4 separate regions of the Homo sapiens genome follow, and regions 2, 3 and 4 are each linked to region 1. Evidence: promoter capture Hi-C in 16 types of primary human blood cells and fetal thymus (Javierre and others, 2016). All regions are on one chromosome and are shown on one strand. Each heading gives the region's core, a stretch centred on a gene start or on the middle of the fragment in contact. The rest is flanking DNA. Distances are from core to core; before and after follow the strand shown. Region 1 holds the start of FTL (ferritin light chain). Region 2 holds the start of RASIP1 (Ras interacting protein 1). Region 3 has its middle 15 kb from the start of FGF21. Region 4 holds the start of HSD17B14 (hydroxysteroid 17-beta dehydrogenase 14).

Evidence for each region. The method cuts DNA at HindIII sites, captures the fragments that hold promoters and counts their contacts. A CHiCAGO score of 5 or more calls a contact.
Region 2: a fragment that was not itself captured here is called in contact with the fragment with the promoter of FTL in region 1 in 3 of 17 cell types (endothelial precursors, erythroblasts and naive CD4 T cells); the score reaches 8.7 in endothelial precursors.
Region 3: a fragment that was not itself captured here is called in contact with the fragment with the promoter of FTL in region 1 in 2 of 17 cell types (endothelial precursors and erythroblasts); the score reaches 7.5 in endothelial precursors.
Region 4: the fragment with the promoter of HSD17B14 here is called in contact with the fragment with the promoter of FTL in region 1 in 15 of 17 cell types (endothelial precursors, erythroblasts, activated CD4 T cells and 12 more); the score reaches 13.6 in endothelial precursors.

Annotation. Positions count from the first base shown.
Region 1 is chr19:48,963,680-48,967,193 of GRCh38, reverse strand. FTL (ferritin light chain) reads right to left here and starts at 1,885. Exons shown (of 4, transcript NM_000146.4): 1 at 1,585-1,885; 2 at 1,278-1,424; 3 at 788-913; 4 at 315-611. The coding sequence starts at 1,686. The coding sequence ends at 459. RefSeq lists enhancers at 1,596-1,645, 3,195-3,304, a silencer at 1,896-2,055 and a cis regulatory region at 2,986-3,486. The HindIII fragment of the contact is 1,823 bases long and covers 569-2,391 here.
Region 2 is chr19:48,737,706-48,741,219 of GRCh38, reverse strand. RASIP1 (Ras interacting protein 1) reads left to right here and starts at 610. Exons shown (of 12, transcript NM_017805.3): 1 at 610-699; 2 at 934-1,074; 3 at 1,575-2,260. The coding sequence starts at 938. IZUMO1 (izumo sperm-oocyte fusion 1) reads left to right here. Exons shown (of 10, transcript NM_182575.3): 10 at 192-368. The coding sequence ends at 312. RefSeq lists a cis regulatory region at 1-757, an enhancer at 1,818-2,357 and a silencer at 1,875-2,394. The HindIII fragment of the contact is 1,528 bases long and covers 988-2,515 here.
Region 3 is chr19:48,768,292-48,771,805 of GRCh38, reverse strand. No RefSeq gene overlaps it. Among named protein-coding and RNA genes, the nearest start is that of FGF21, 15 kb to the right of the region's middle. The HindIII fragment of the contact is 1,688 bases long and covers 766-2,453 here.
Region 4 is chr19:48,834,536-48,838,049 of GRCh38, reverse strand. It overlaps HSD17B14 (hydroxysteroid 17-beta dehydrogenase 14), which reads left to right and starts at 1,559. Exons shown (of 9, transcript NM_016246.3): 1 at 1,559-1,726; 2 at 2,207-2,245. The coding sequence starts at 1,639. PLEKHA4 (pleckstrin homology domain containing A4) reads left to right here. Exons shown (of 20, transcript NM_020904.3): 19 at 1-33; 20 at 499-953. The coding sequence ends at 761. RefSeq lists a silencer at 582-651. The HindIII fragment of the contact is 28,283 bases long and covers 1-3,514 here.

The DNA of each region.
Region 1 (3,514 bases), core at 636-3,135:
CGACCCACCTGGCCCCATAATCACTCGTTAAATAGGGCTGTTTCTGGCTGAGACCTAACATCTGTTTCTAGATACCAACCTAGGTCTTAATTCAACTCCCTGGAGTCTATCTCTACCATCTGGGAGGGACAGTTAACAGCCAGGCAAGCAGAGAACCCTCAGGTTCAACACTACCCAGATAGCCTCTTGTCTTAGGACAGTTAAGAAAATGGGAGATGGGGCCAACTCCTCTTTCACTGGCATCCCAACCCAGCCAGAAGCTTTATGAGAACAGATCCCACCTCATCTTCCACACCACACACAAAACCACCAGCTGCATCAAAAAGCTTTATTTCCATTTGGTCCAAGGCTTGTTAGGATAGTTAAGAAAGCTGCCTATTGGCTGGAGGGAGAGGCTTAGGCAGAAGCCCTATTACTTTGCAAGGGGCCCTTCAGAAGTCGCTGGGCTCAGAAGGCTCTTAGTCGTGCTTGAGAGTGAGCCTTTCGAAGAGATACTCGCCCAGCCCAGCCTCCGGGCCACCCAGCCTGTGGAGGTTGGTCAGGTGGTCACCCATCTTCTTGATAAGCTTCACTTCCTCATCTAGGAAGTGAGTCTCCAGGAAGTCACAGAGCTGAGAGAGAAGAGGGAGAAATTAGAAACCCAATCCCTGGAAAAGAGGGGGAGAGAGCAGCCAGTTGCAGATTAAAATGTGACAGGTGTGAAATGAGGCTCTGAAGGAAATTTGCCCAAAGGGAGCAGAGGCTTGAGGGGTATGGTTGGGTAGCCATGGATGCAGCGGGTACGTACATGGGGGTCCGTGCGGGCAGAACCCAGGGCATGAAGATCCAAAAGGGCCTGGTTCAGCTTTTTCTCCAGGGCCATGGCAGCTTTCATGGCGTCTGGGGTTTTACCCCACTCATCTTCAGCTGGCTTCTATATAGAAGGGAGAAATGGCTCAGAATACACACACTCGGCACATAGAACTAAACCTACATTTCCCAAGAGTCGTTGGGGGTCAGAGGCCCAGGCCACAAAGACATGTGACAGCTTGTATTTATCACTCTCCGCACCCTGTCCTAGCTCTTACAGCTATACGTCCCTAAGACCACGCAGCGGTGTGGACTGCCGCGTGTTGTGGGCACTGCACGAGGTGCGCCTCTATTTCCAGCGGTTAAGAGGGCTCACAAGACCGAACTCAATCTCCCAGAAGCCCACGCGACACCTACGCCCTCAAATCAAGGCTCCTCGCGCGCACGGCCTGCTGGGAGATGTAGTCCATTACCCACACACTAGTTACCTTGATGTCCTGGAAGAGAGCGCGGCCGCCACGCTGGTTTTGCATCTTCAGGAGACGCTCGTAGCCCTCGCGCTTCTCCTCGGCCAATTCGCGGAAGAAGTGGCTCACGCCTTCCAGAGCCACATCATCGCGGTCGAAATAGAAGCCCTACGGGAAGAGATGGAGGCAACAATGGTTAGCGGGAGGCGAGGCCAAGGGGACTCCGCCCTCTGTTTACCCGACCGCACAAAGAAGGCTGGCGCGTGCAGTGAGGGCCGGAGGTGCGCAGCTGGAGGAAATTAGGGCCAGGGGCGTCCTGGGGACTCACCAGAGAGAGGTAGGTGTAGGAGGCCTGCAGGTACAAATTGACCAGGCTGTTGACGGCTGCCTCCACGTCGGTGGAATAATTCTGACGAATCTGGGAGCTCATGGTTGGTTGGCAAGAAGGAGCTAACCACAAAAACGGTGCTGGCAGGTCCCAGAAGCAGGAGATGGCCGAGAAGATGGTCCCGGAGGTTGCAAGCGGAGAGGAAATCGGAGGGCGGTCGGAGGCTGGAAGAGAGTCCCCGGATCTGTTCCGTCCAAACACTGTTGAAGCAAGAGACAGACCCGCGGGACCGCCGAACTGCGAGGGGACGTGGCTAGGGCGGCTTCTTTTATGGTGCGCCGGCCCTCGGAGGCAGGGCGCTCGGGGAGGGCTAGCGGCCAATCTGCGGTGGCAGGAGGCGGGGCCGAAGGCCGTGCCTGACCAATCCGGAGCACATAGGAGTCTCAGCCCCCCGCCCCAAAGCAAGGGGAAGTCACGCGCCTGTAGCGCCAGCGTGTTGTGAAATGGGGGCTTGGGGGGGTTGGGGCCCTGGGGCTGATTCTGGAAATGCAGGGGTTCGTGGGCGGGAGGGTGGGGGCTGGGGTCCCTCTGGGAGGCTAGAGTTTTATGGGAGCACTAACAGCCCTGTGAACTGATGACCCTGGGGTCCTGGGGTGCCTCGGGAAAGTAAGATTCTGGGGTTTCCGAGGGCATGGATTTTTCTGGAACCTTGAGTGGGGGGAGGGGCACCTCAAAGGTGCAGGGAGGACCTGTAGTTGCCTGAGGTTTGCGCTGCGAGATAAGGAGTCTCCGGATCCTTGGGAAGCTTGGAAGGCTGTGAGGTGTTATTTCTGGACCCCTGGAGATCTCTGGAAGATGGAGTGTTGCGGGGACTGGAGTCCTGGGATTTACAGGGGTGGGGGTTCACGATGCAAACTCTCTATATTTTGGAGCCCTCCCCGGGGAAATCTTTAGGTTCTTGAGGTGCTCTGCAAGTTGGAAAGGGCAGTTATTCTGGAGCCGTGGGTTTCACCCAGTGCGGGAAGCCCAGGAGGAGCATTGTATGAGGTAGGGTGACTTCTGGAACCCTGGACAGCCCTCTGGAACCCTCCAAAGATGGGCTGGGACTTTGGGGATACCTTGGAGCTCTTTCAGGGGCCCAGGCTTTTTCTGGGAGTGGAAATGGGGAGGAATGAAAAGTCTGTTTTGAGCTTTGCGGTGTCTCTGGGATTGCATTTCCTGGAGGCTGTTTTGGAGACAACTCACAGACTTCGAGAATTCTCCGTGGCCCTGAACAGTGTCTCTGAAGTTGCCCTCGTGTCTTGCCTGACGTGTGCTCCTTCAGGCCCACAAAGAGAAGCCCTGCGTTGTGGACAAACAGTCTGGGGACCTATGGACGAGACGTCTGTCTTCGACTAATGCATATTTTTTAAGTGGGCCTGGTCCACGTTGATTTCTGGGAGACGGAGTCGGCGCAAACCTTGACTCTACTTAAGTGCCCTGATGGAGGCAGCCCGTGCGCTGGGCAGGGAGCTGAAGCCACTGGGGTGTGGGGTGAGGTCAGGCCCTGCCCTACAGAGGAGCTGCTCCGAACAGCCCAGGCGGGGCAGCCCCTGACCGAGGGGATCTGCAGATGCCCCGCCAGGCCGGTATCTGGGGTCCTTGTTGCAGGCAGCGACTGCTGAGTCATGCTGAGCTCAGCGCGGGAAGGGGCCCCCGCGGGGACGGATGGGGGTGGGGCCACTCGCTGACCTCATCCCCTTGGCACTCCCCGACTTTTTTGGTGGGACCCTCAGAACTAGACCTGGCTCAGACCCAAATCGGGCCCCCTACCCCAAGGTCCCCCCTTGTTGGAAGCCGGCTGTGTGCTTTGTCTCCGTGTCTTTTTGGTTCCCATAATTTTTTTTTTTCTGGGATCCTGCCTGTGGCCATATTGTCCCCTCACTCTGGG
Region 2 (3,514 bases), core at 502-3,001, 230 kb after region 1:
GGGGCTACTGAGGCCTGAGAGCAGGACTTTCCTGGGGATGGAGTGCGGGGGGCTTGAATAGGAGGACTTCGAAGGGCGAGGCTTAGGTAATTGCTAGAATAAGGTCACAAAGGGGGAGGTTGGGAGGGGTGTCCCCCACACAATTAGTACCCAAACCGGTTCCATGATCTGCACCCCACTCCCACCCCTAGGATATTTCGTCGAAGGAAGGTGATCGATTTCATCAAATCCTCACTGTTTGGCCTTGGCAGTGGAGCGGCCGAGCAAACCCAGGTCCCAAAAGAAAAGGCCACAGATTCGAGGCAACAATAAAGATTTATCTTGTTGTCTAAGCATCTGACTCACTCCCCGGGACGGGACTGATTCTAGCCTTTGGTTCCCCGAGAGGAGAGGTCTGGGGATGGGCTCCGGCCTGAGGGAGGAAGGGCAGAAAACCGGGACCCTTGGGTCCTGGAGGGGACCAACTGACTGCGATGTAATTCCAGAATCAAGGAATGGGGCAGGGCCAACCCTACCCAGATCTCCTCCCCCAGGCCTGGTCTCCTCACAGGACGCCCCCTCCCCGCTCTTCCTGCCGGGTTTCCTCTTGCCTTTTCCTGTCCCCCACCCAGTGCTGGGAGCCGTGGCAGAGGCAAGAGCAGTGGAACTGACCCAGGCCAGTGGAGCCAGGGCCTCCGGGTGTGCCGGACCCGAAGCAGGGTAAGAGCCAGGGACCCAGCAGCCCAAACCCCTCCTCCCTGGGCCCCAAGACTCAGTCCCCCAGCCATCTTCCATCCCAGGACCCAGGAATCCAGGGTACCATCCCTCTCCTCCCCCTGGACTCGCAAGTCTGAGCCCCAGCCCCCTCCTCCCTCTGACTCGGAGTCCAGGTTCCCTCCACCCCATCCCCACAAGAATGCCTTAGGAGTTGGGGCCTTACCCGCCTTCCCTTAGGGCCATGCTGTCTGGTGAACGGAAGGAGGGCGGAAGCCCCCGCTTCGGGAAGCTTCATCTCCCCGTGGGCCTGTGGATCAATTCCCCCAGGAAGCAGCTGGCGAAGCTGGGGCGGCGCTGGCCCAGCGCAGCCTCTGTCAAGTGAGTGCCATCTCTGCAGGACTCCTGCCCCTGCACACCTGCTTCCCATCTGTCCCTGTTCACTGCCCAGTCCCTGCAAAGTGTTGGCTCCGGTCCTCATCCTGAATTGGGCAAACGAGCTGGTGGGCAGGGGGAGACGGTGGGGCACAGTGATACCAGGGCGCGGTGGGAGTAAGAGCTAGGCTAGGAGGTGGAGTGAGGCCGGATGGGCACGGGGACGGGGACAGAAGGAGCAGGGGGATTGATTCACCTTCCTTCCTCCCCTCCCTGCTCACCTCTTGGAATTTCCTACTGTGGGACTTGCCTTTATTTATTTATTTTTTCTCTCTCTCTTTGCCTCGCGTCTGTCCCCACCCTCACCCCCGCCCCGTCCATCCACCCTGGGTCCCTGTCCTCCCTCTGGGTCTCTGCCCACTTCCCTCCTAATATGCCCCCACCCCCGTCTTGGCGTGTCGTCCTGGGTCTCTCTCCCGCGACTCTGTTCCCCGGCGGACTCCCAGGTCTTCTTCGTCGGACACGGGGAGCCGCAGCAGCGAGCCGCTACCTCCGCCCCCGCCGCACGTGGAGCTGCGGCGAGTGGGCGCTGTCAAGGCGGCCGGGGGAGCCTCCGGTAGCCGCGCCAAGCGCATCTCCCAGCTCTTCCGGGGCTCGGGGACCGGGACCACGGGGTCCAGCGGCGCAGGAGGCCCTGGGACCCCGGGGGGCGCGCAGCGCTGGGCCAGCGAGAAGAAGCTGCCGGAGCTGGCGGCGGGCGTGGCCCCCGAGCCCCCGCTGGCTACCCGCGCCACGGCGCCTCCGGGGGTCCTCAAGATCTTCGGCGCCGGACTGGCATCGGGCGCCAACTACAAGAGCGTGCTGGCCACGGCGCGCTCCACGGCGCGCGAGCTCGTGGCCGAGGCGCTAGAGCGCTACGGCCTAGCAGGCAGCCCCGGCGGTGGCCCCGGCGAGAGCAGCTGCGTGGACGCCTTCGCTTTGTGCGACGCTCTGGGCCGGCCCGCGGCGGCGGGCGTGGGAAGCGGCGAGTGGCGGGCGGAGCACCTGCGCGTGCTGGGCGACTCCGAGCGCCCGCTGCTGGTGCAGGAGCTGTGGCGGGCGCGGCCCGGCTGGGCGCGGCGCTTCGAGTTGCGCGGCCGCGAGGAGGCGCGGCGCCTGGAGCAGGAGGCCTTCGGGGCCGCGGACAGCGAAGGTGAGCGGCGGGCGGGGCTCTGGGGCGGGGACTCGGTGCCAGAGAGGCGGGGTCCGTGGGGCGGGGCCTGGGCGGGGCTTGTGGGACTCGCGGGCTGGCTGGGGGCGGGGCCCGCGGGAGGGGACTGGGAGGGGACTGGACGGTGCGTGTTGGACTCTAGGCAGAGCTAGAGCAGGGCCGGGGGCGGCCAGATGGGCGGGCCTGAGAGTTGGGTGGGGCTTGTTGATTGAGCAGGAGTTTTACAGGGGCCAAGCTTGGGGCTTAGGCGGGACGGGGGCTGGTTGCTGGTGGTGGCTTGGAGTGGCCTGAAGTGGCTCCGAATTGGGGTTAGGGCCTTCTGCAGGCATTTCAGACTGCCTTGGAGGAGGTGGGGTGTGTAGCGGGGTCTGCGGAGTAGTAGATCCTGAGGAGCGTTTGTGGAGTCCAGTGGAATGGGCAGGAGTCCGCAGGGGCCTAAGGGATTCGCCCTGTGTGGTAGGTTAGAGGACACTAGCAATTTGCTGATCTTTGAAAGTTCCTTTCTCTAACCAATCCCCACTTTCTGGTAAGGTTTCTGCGAGGTCTGTTAGGTGTACATCCTGCAGCTTAATGGCTTAAACTGTACTCTCCTTTGATGTGGTCTCTTGGGGCCAATTAGGAGAAAGAGAAATCAATAGTGCAACTGTTTTGATACTGAATATTGACAAGGGTCTTTTTGAATTAAAGAACTAGTCCTGGCCGGGCGTGGTGGCTCACGCCTGTAATCCCAGCACTTTGAGAGGCTGAGGCGGGCGGATCACCTGAGGTTGGGAGTTCGAGACCAGTCTGGCCAACATGGTGAAATCCTGTCTCTTCTAAAAATACAAAAATTAGCCGAGCGTGGTGACGCATGCCTGTAATCCCAGCTACTCGGGAGGCCGAGACATGAGAATAATTTGAACCCAGGAGGCAGAGGCTGCAGTGAGCCAAGATCGCGCCACTGAACTCCAGCCTGGGGGACAGAGCGAGACTTCGTCTCGAAAAAACAAACAAACAAACAAACAAAAAACTGTCCTCCAGAAAAAGAAAAAGGAATTGGAGACCTAGGAGCCGGAAGAGTAAGCACGGACAATGTTCTTGGGAGCGATGCAGAGCAGATGGGCGGGGCATGTTGTGGGGCGGGGCCTGTGGTGGGGCGGGGCTTGTGGAAAAGCGTGGTCTGGGGCAAAAACTGTTGGGTCCCGCGAGGAGTGGTGGCATGTGGTGAGCATGGGTCTCTGTGGTAGGAGGCAGCTC
Region 3 (3,514 bases), core at 360-2,859, 200 kb after region 1:
CTGGAGTGCAATGGTGCAATCATAGCTCACTGCAGCCTCAAACTCCTGAATTCAGGCGACCCACCCACTTCAGCCTCCCAAGTAGCTGGGACTGTAGGTGTGTGCCACCATGCCCGGCACATTTTTGTATGTTTTTTTAGAGACGGTGTTTCACCATGTTACCCAGGCTGGTCTCGAACTCCTGGGCTCAAGGAATCGATCCTCCTGCCTCGGTCTCCCAAAGTGCTCGGATCACAAGGGTGTGCCACAGCGCCTGGCCCACTCTTGAAATTTTAACATGCATCCTTAAAGTGACCAAATCTAAATATAATCATTCTGTCATATTCCAGAATAACAAAAGATTTCAAAGCATTCTAATCCTGATCACCTGCCACCTGTTTTACAGGTTTTAATTGGTCTTTTTTTTTTTTTTAAGTTTTATTATGAAAAAACGGCGACTATGCAAACCAAATAGACCTCTAGGGAGTGGGCTGCAGGCAGCGGGTCTCTCACCTCCAAGAGGGTGTGGCCTAATGGAGTCTGGGACCTCTCTCTGAGGGGCCTGGAAATCTACTTCCGGAAGAGCAGAAAGTAACAGGAAGCTGGAGCCATTGCTGTCCCTGGCTCCTGGCAAGACGCAGTGTGGAACTAGGGTCTTGTGAGAAATCCCTACACCCCTCCTCCTGCCAGCCAGCGCCCTGCCAGGGCCCCGTGCTGCTGGTGCCAGCTGCCAAGGGGGTCACAGAGCTGGAGGGTCAGCTTTGTGGCAGAGACAGCGGCGAAGCTTCACCCAAACAAGTAGAGGAAAAATGGGCTCACCCTGAGTGTGTAACAAAGAGGAAATGCCCCACACGTTTCCCGGAGAAGGTCCTGGAACAAACAGCCGTGAAATCATCTCATGTCCCAACCTATTACAATACTATGACTTAGAACAAGTTTTTCAGGCTGTATTATAAAAATAAGACACTCTGAGTCGACTGGGCGCGGTGGCTCACGCCTGAAATCCCAACACTTTGGGACGCCGAGGCGGACAGATCACCTGAGGTCAGGAGTTTGAGACCAGCCAGGCCAACATAGTGAAACCCCGTCTCTACTAAAAATACAAAAAAATTAGCTGGGCGTGGTGGCGGGTGCCTGTAATCCCAGCTACTCGGGAGCCTGAGGCGGGAGAATCATTTGAATCTAGGAGGAGGAGGTTGCAGTGAACCGAGATCTTGCCATTGCACTCCAGCCTGGGTGACGAGCAAAACTGCGTCTCATAAATAAATAAATAAATAAATAACCCAATTCATGTGGTTACGACAAACTCTAAGATAACACGGGCTTTGCCCTGGAATGTCGGCTTGGTGAGAATTGACTTGGAAGAGGGCATTCAGGCTGTTGTAACAAAAATACCACAGACTGTGTAGCTTAAGGAACAAATATGTATCTCTCATAGTTCTGGAGGGTGTGGAGTCCAACATCAAGGCAGCAGCATATTCTGTGTCTGGTGTGGGCCAGTTTCCTTGTTCATTGCTGGCACCTTCTTGCTGTGTTTCCACTTGGTGAAAGGGTAAGGGAGCTCTCTGGGAGGGTATTTTTTGAGACGGAGTTTCGCTTTTGTCGCCCAGGCTGGAGTGCAATAGCGTGATCTCAGCTCACTGCAACCTCCGCCTCCCAGGTTCAAGTGATTCTCCTGCCTCAGCCACTTAATTAGCTGGGATTACAGGCATGCGCCACCATACTGGGCTACTTTCGGCTAATTTTTGTATTTTTAGTAGGGACGGGGTTTCACCATGACTTCAGGTGATCTGCCCACCTCGGCCTCCCAAAGTGCTGGGATTACAGGCGTGAACCACCACACCGGCCATATTTATTTATTTTTGAGACAAGGTCTCTCTCTATCACCCAGGTTGGAGTGCAGTGGTGTGATCACAGCTCACTGTAGCCTTGACCTCCCCAGCTCAAGTGATCCTCCCACCTCAGCCTCTTAACTAGCTGGGACTACAGGTGCGCTTCACCACACTTGGCTAATTTTTTTTTTTTTTTTTTTGGTAGAGATGGGCTTTTGCTATGTTGCCCAGTCTGGTTTAGAACTCCTGGGCTCAGGTGATCCTTCTACCTTGGCCTCTCAAAGTGCTGAGATTACAGGTGTAAGCCACCTTGCCCAGCCTTCTCGAAAATATTTAAAGCATTTGTAAGAATCTGGTATATCAGACTTGTGAAAAGTATGACAGAGTGTATTACTGTTTTTCTCCTATTCATGGCATTTAAGGGAAACCACAATATCAGATTTGTGAAAAGTTCACTGATTAAATGTGCAATCACTGTTCAAATATTTAGGCGAAATCTACAATTGTGAAATTTGTGGCTTGTTATTTTTAGCTGTAGAAGTAGTCTGTGAATGTTTAAAGGAAAGATAATTGTTTAAAAATTCATTGATCATTAACAAAAAAACAAATTGTTGTGAATTTTCCTGTCCATGTACAAAAGCTTCTCAGTCATTCAAGGAGCTCACCACCATGTTTTCAACAAATGGGGCTGGAAAAAGTGGCCAGGAGCTGAAGGGAGGAGAATTGGGGAAGTGGGATTTAATTGCGGCAGAGAGTTTCAATTTTATCAGATGAAAAAATTCTGAAGATTGGTTGTGCAACAATGTGAATATACTTAACGCGACTTAACTGTACACTTAGAAATGATTCAGGTGCCGTGGGGTTATGATACAGATTGGTTTTCGGCCAGGTGCAATGGCTTACGCTTGTAATCCAACACTTTGGGTGGCCGAGGCGGGCAGATCACTTGAGGTCAGGAGTTCTGAGAGCCGCCTGGCCAACATGGTGAAACCCTGTCTCTACTAAAAATACAAAAATTAGCCGGGCATGGTAGCGCAAACCTGAAGTCCCAGCTACTTGGGAGGCTGAAGCACGAGAATCTCTTGAACCCGGGAGGCGGAGGTTCCAGTGAGCCCACTGCACTCCAGCCCGGGCAACAGAGCGAGATTCTTTCTCTCAAAAAAAAACAAAAAAAAAAAACAAAAAAAACAAAAACAAAAACAAAAAACCTCCAAAAAATTAGCCAGGTGGAGGCACCTGTAATCTGAGCCACTTAGGAGGCTGAGGCAGGAGAATTGCTTGAACCTGGGAGGCAGAGGTTGCAGAGAGCTGAGATTGTGCCACTGCACTCCAGCCTGGGCGACAGTGACCCTGTCCCCCTCCACCCCTCCGAAAAAAAAAGAAAAGAAAACAAGAACAGTAGTCAAATCTCTAGGGGCTCCAGTGAGTAGGTGAGGATAGGGTGTGGTGGAGAAGCTGAAAGATGCTAAATAGCCTGGCTCCCCAGGGATCTGGGAAGTGCTCACTCAGTAGAACCTCCCTCTTGGAAGGACGAAGCTCCACACTGGTGAAAACTAATAGAGAAACAAAACCCAAACTGATCTTGGCAGGCGCTCAGAGAGTAAAGCAGAGGGAAGGTTCTGATAATGGTGGGGGCAAGAACCAAGGAGATAGAGTTTGCTCCTGAACGTTGGAGAGGTGGCTGTGCTGAGTGGTTATATATT
Region 4 (3,514 bases), core at 310-2,809, 130 kb after region 1:
CTGAGGCGTCGCAGTGGCACAGAATGATGACAGGTGACTGGCTGGGGATGTTGGACTTCTGGGTTTTAGGGAGGAGAGAGCTGGAGACCTGGAATCCCAGGTCCTGGAGAGGAGGGGTCTGGGGGCCGGTGAGAATTTTTTATCTTGGTGAGTAAAGAGTTGGGCAGGGTTTGGGAGTTTTAGGTCTCAGGCAAGAGGTGACTGGGGTCCGGGACACTTGGGAGGAGGGGAGGAAGAGGTCAGGGGGCGGGGAGAGGGCCGACAACTGAGTCTCAAAGAGGACTGGACTGGCGTATCCAGACTCCTGGATCTGAGGGAGGAGGGGCTGGGGGCCTGGACTCCTGGGTCTGAGGGAGGAGGGGCTGGGGGCCTGGACTCCTGGGTCTGATGGAGGAGGGGCTGGGAATCCGGAGTCCTGGGTCTGAGGGAGGAGGGGCTGGGAATCCGGGGTCCTAGCGCTGAGGTTTGCCATTCTCATGTCCCACTCATCCTCTCCAGGTGGAAATTTGGACTCCCAGGGAGACCCTCTTCCCGGTGTGCCGCTGCCTCCTTCGGACCCCACGCGCCAGGAGACCCCTCCCCCCAGATCTCCCCCGGTGGCTAATTCGGGTTCCACGGGGTTCTCTCGCCGAGGGAGTGGGCGTGGAGGAGGTCCCACCCCCTGGGGGCCCGCGTGGGATGCCGGGATCGCCCCTCCGGTCCTGCCACAAGACGAGGGGGCATGGCCTCTGCGAGTCACTCTGCTACAATCCAGCTTCTAATCCGCCCAAAAGCGGCAGCCAATCGGAGCGCGAGGACGTGGTCTGGAGGTACCGCCGGAGATCTGGGACCACTCAGGGCATCAGGGGGCGTGGTCTGGTCCCCATTGCGGGCCCGGGAGGGGAATGGTTTCTATGGCCAAAGTTTGGTTTTCTCAACACTGTCTAAATTTGGATTAAAACTTTGAACTTTTAGTCAATAGCTTTCTTTCTGTCTGTCTGGGGTTGTGGCACTGGTGTCTCTGAGGGGCAGAGCTGGAGTCGTGGACTCCTGGGTCCTGAGAGAGGAAGGGACAGGGGGCTTGGACTTATAGGTCTCTGGGAAGAAGGGATAGAGAACCTGATCCCTCGGTCTGAGAGTGGAGGGGGCTGGGCCAGGATTCCCGGGTCTGAGGGAGGAAGGGGTGGGACCCTGACTCCTGGGTCTGAGGGAGGAGGGACTGGGAGGCTGGACTCCCGGGTCTGAGGGAGGAGGGGCTGGGACCCTGACTCCTGGGTCTGAGGGAGGAGGGGCTGGGAGGCTGGACTCCCGGGTCTGAGGGAGGAGGGGCTGGGAGGCTGGACTCCCGAGTCTGAGGGAGGAGGGGCTGGGGGCCTGGACTCCCGAGTCTGAGGGAGGAGGGACTGAGGCTTCTGGATTCCTGGGTCTGTGGGAGGAGGGACTGGGGCTCCTGGATTCCTGGGTCTGTGGGAAGAGAGGAGTGTCTGAGGGAGGAGGGGCTGGGGACAAACTTCCAGGTCTCTAGCCTTCCTGGCAACGCCCCCCGAGGCCGGACTTCCAGGATCCAGCCTCTATTGAGGATTTGATGCGACGGCCTCACGGGGCTTTGGAGGTGAAAGAGGCCCAGAGTAGAGAGAGAGAGAGACCGACGTACACGGGATGGCTACGGGAACGCGCTATGCCGGGAAGGTGGTGGTCGTGACCGGGGGCGGGCGCGGCATCGGAGCTGGGATCGTGCGCGCCTTCGGTGAGCCGGGTCTGACTGCTGGGAGCTGTGGAGTGTGAGAAAGGAAGGATGGGGGCGGGGTGATGGGGGCGGAAAATAGGGACTCCAGTACTGCAGCCAGGATTCTGATATTATAAAAGCCAATTTGCAGGCTAAAGTAAGCGTGTGGCGCTGTAGGCTAGGGCTGAGTCTGGCAGGGTCTCCGAAGGCAGTGGCCCCTTTCTCTGGGTCTGTTGGTGTAGCTACAAAACCAGTGGTTTGAGGAATGGCTCTGTCAGTCGTGGAGTTTGCTCCGGAAGCCACGAACGGGGGTTCAGGAGCCTCAGCAGAAACAAGGCAAGGAGAGTATGTGTCAAGGCGTCTGCCCTCTGTCCTATGGGTGATCATGAGACTGGGGTCACGAGGGGAGAGGGAGATCAGCCCCAATCCAGGTGGCCACAAGAGGGCGGCAGAGGCTTTAACCAAGGCTCGGAGAGTAACCTGTTCCCTTCCTATTCTCAGTGAACAGCGGGGCCCGAGTGGTTATCTGCGACAAGGATGGTGAGTGACGGTCCCTCAGCCCTCACCTTGGCCCTTCCTCCCTCAGACCCAGAGGTCCAGACCCCTAGCACCTCCTCCCTCAGACCCCGGAGTCCAGGCCCCCAGGCCCTACTTCCTCAGACCCAGGAGTCCAGACCTCAGCCCCTCCTCCCTCAGACCTAGGAGTCCAGGCCCCCAGCCCCTCTGCCCTCAGACCCAGGAGTCCAGGTCCCCAGCCCCTCCTCCCTCAGACCCAGAAGTCCAGGCTCCGGCACCTCCTCCCTCAGACCCAGGAATCCAAGTCCCCAACCCCTCCTCCTTCAGACCCAGGGGTCCAGGCTCCCAGCCCCTCTTCCCTCAGACCCAGGAGTCCAGGCTCTGGCACCTCCTCCCTCAGACCCAGGAGTCCAGGCCCCCAGGCCCTACTTTCTCAGACCCAGGAGTCCAGACCTCAGCCCCTCCTCCCTCAGACCCAGGAGTCCAGGCTCCCAGCCCCTCCTCCCTCAGACCCAGGAGTCCAGGCCCCCATCCCCTCCTCCCTCAGACCCAGGAGTCCAGGCCCCCAGCCCCTCCTCCCTCAGACCCAGGAGTCCAGGCTCCCAGCACCTCCTCCCTCAGACCCAGGAGTCCAGGCCCCCAGGCCCTACTTCCTCGGACCCAGGAGTCCAGACCTCAGCCCCTCCTCCCTCAGACCCAGGAGTCCAGGCCCCCAGCCCCTCCTCCCTCAGACCCAGGAGTCCAGGCTCCCAGCACCTCCTCCCTCAGACCCAGGAGTCCAGGCCCCCAGGCCCTACTTCCTCGGACCCAGGAGTCCAGACCTCAGCCCCTCCTCCCTCAGACCCAGGAGTCCAGGCCCCCAGCCCCTCCTCCCTCAGACCCAGGAGTCCAGGCTCCCAGCCCTTCCTCCCTCAGACCCAGGAGTCCAGGCCCCCAGGCCCTACTTCCTCGGACCCAGGAGTCCAGACCTCAGCCCCTCCTCCCTCAGACCCAGGAGTCCAGGCCCCCAGCCCCTCCTCCCTCAGACCCAGGAGTCCAGGCTCCCAGCCCCTCCTCCCTCAGACCCAGGAGTCCAGGCTCCCAGCCCCTCCTCCCTCAGACCCAGGAGTCCAGGCTCCCAGCCCTTCCTCCCTCAGACCCAGGAGTCCAGGCCCCCAGGCCCTACTTCCTCGGACCCAGGAGTCCAGGCTCCCAGCCCTTCCTCCCTCAGACCCAGGAGTCCAGGCCCCCAGGCCCTACTTCCTCGGACCCAGGAGTCCAGGCTCCCAGCCCTTCCTCCCTCAGACCCAGGAG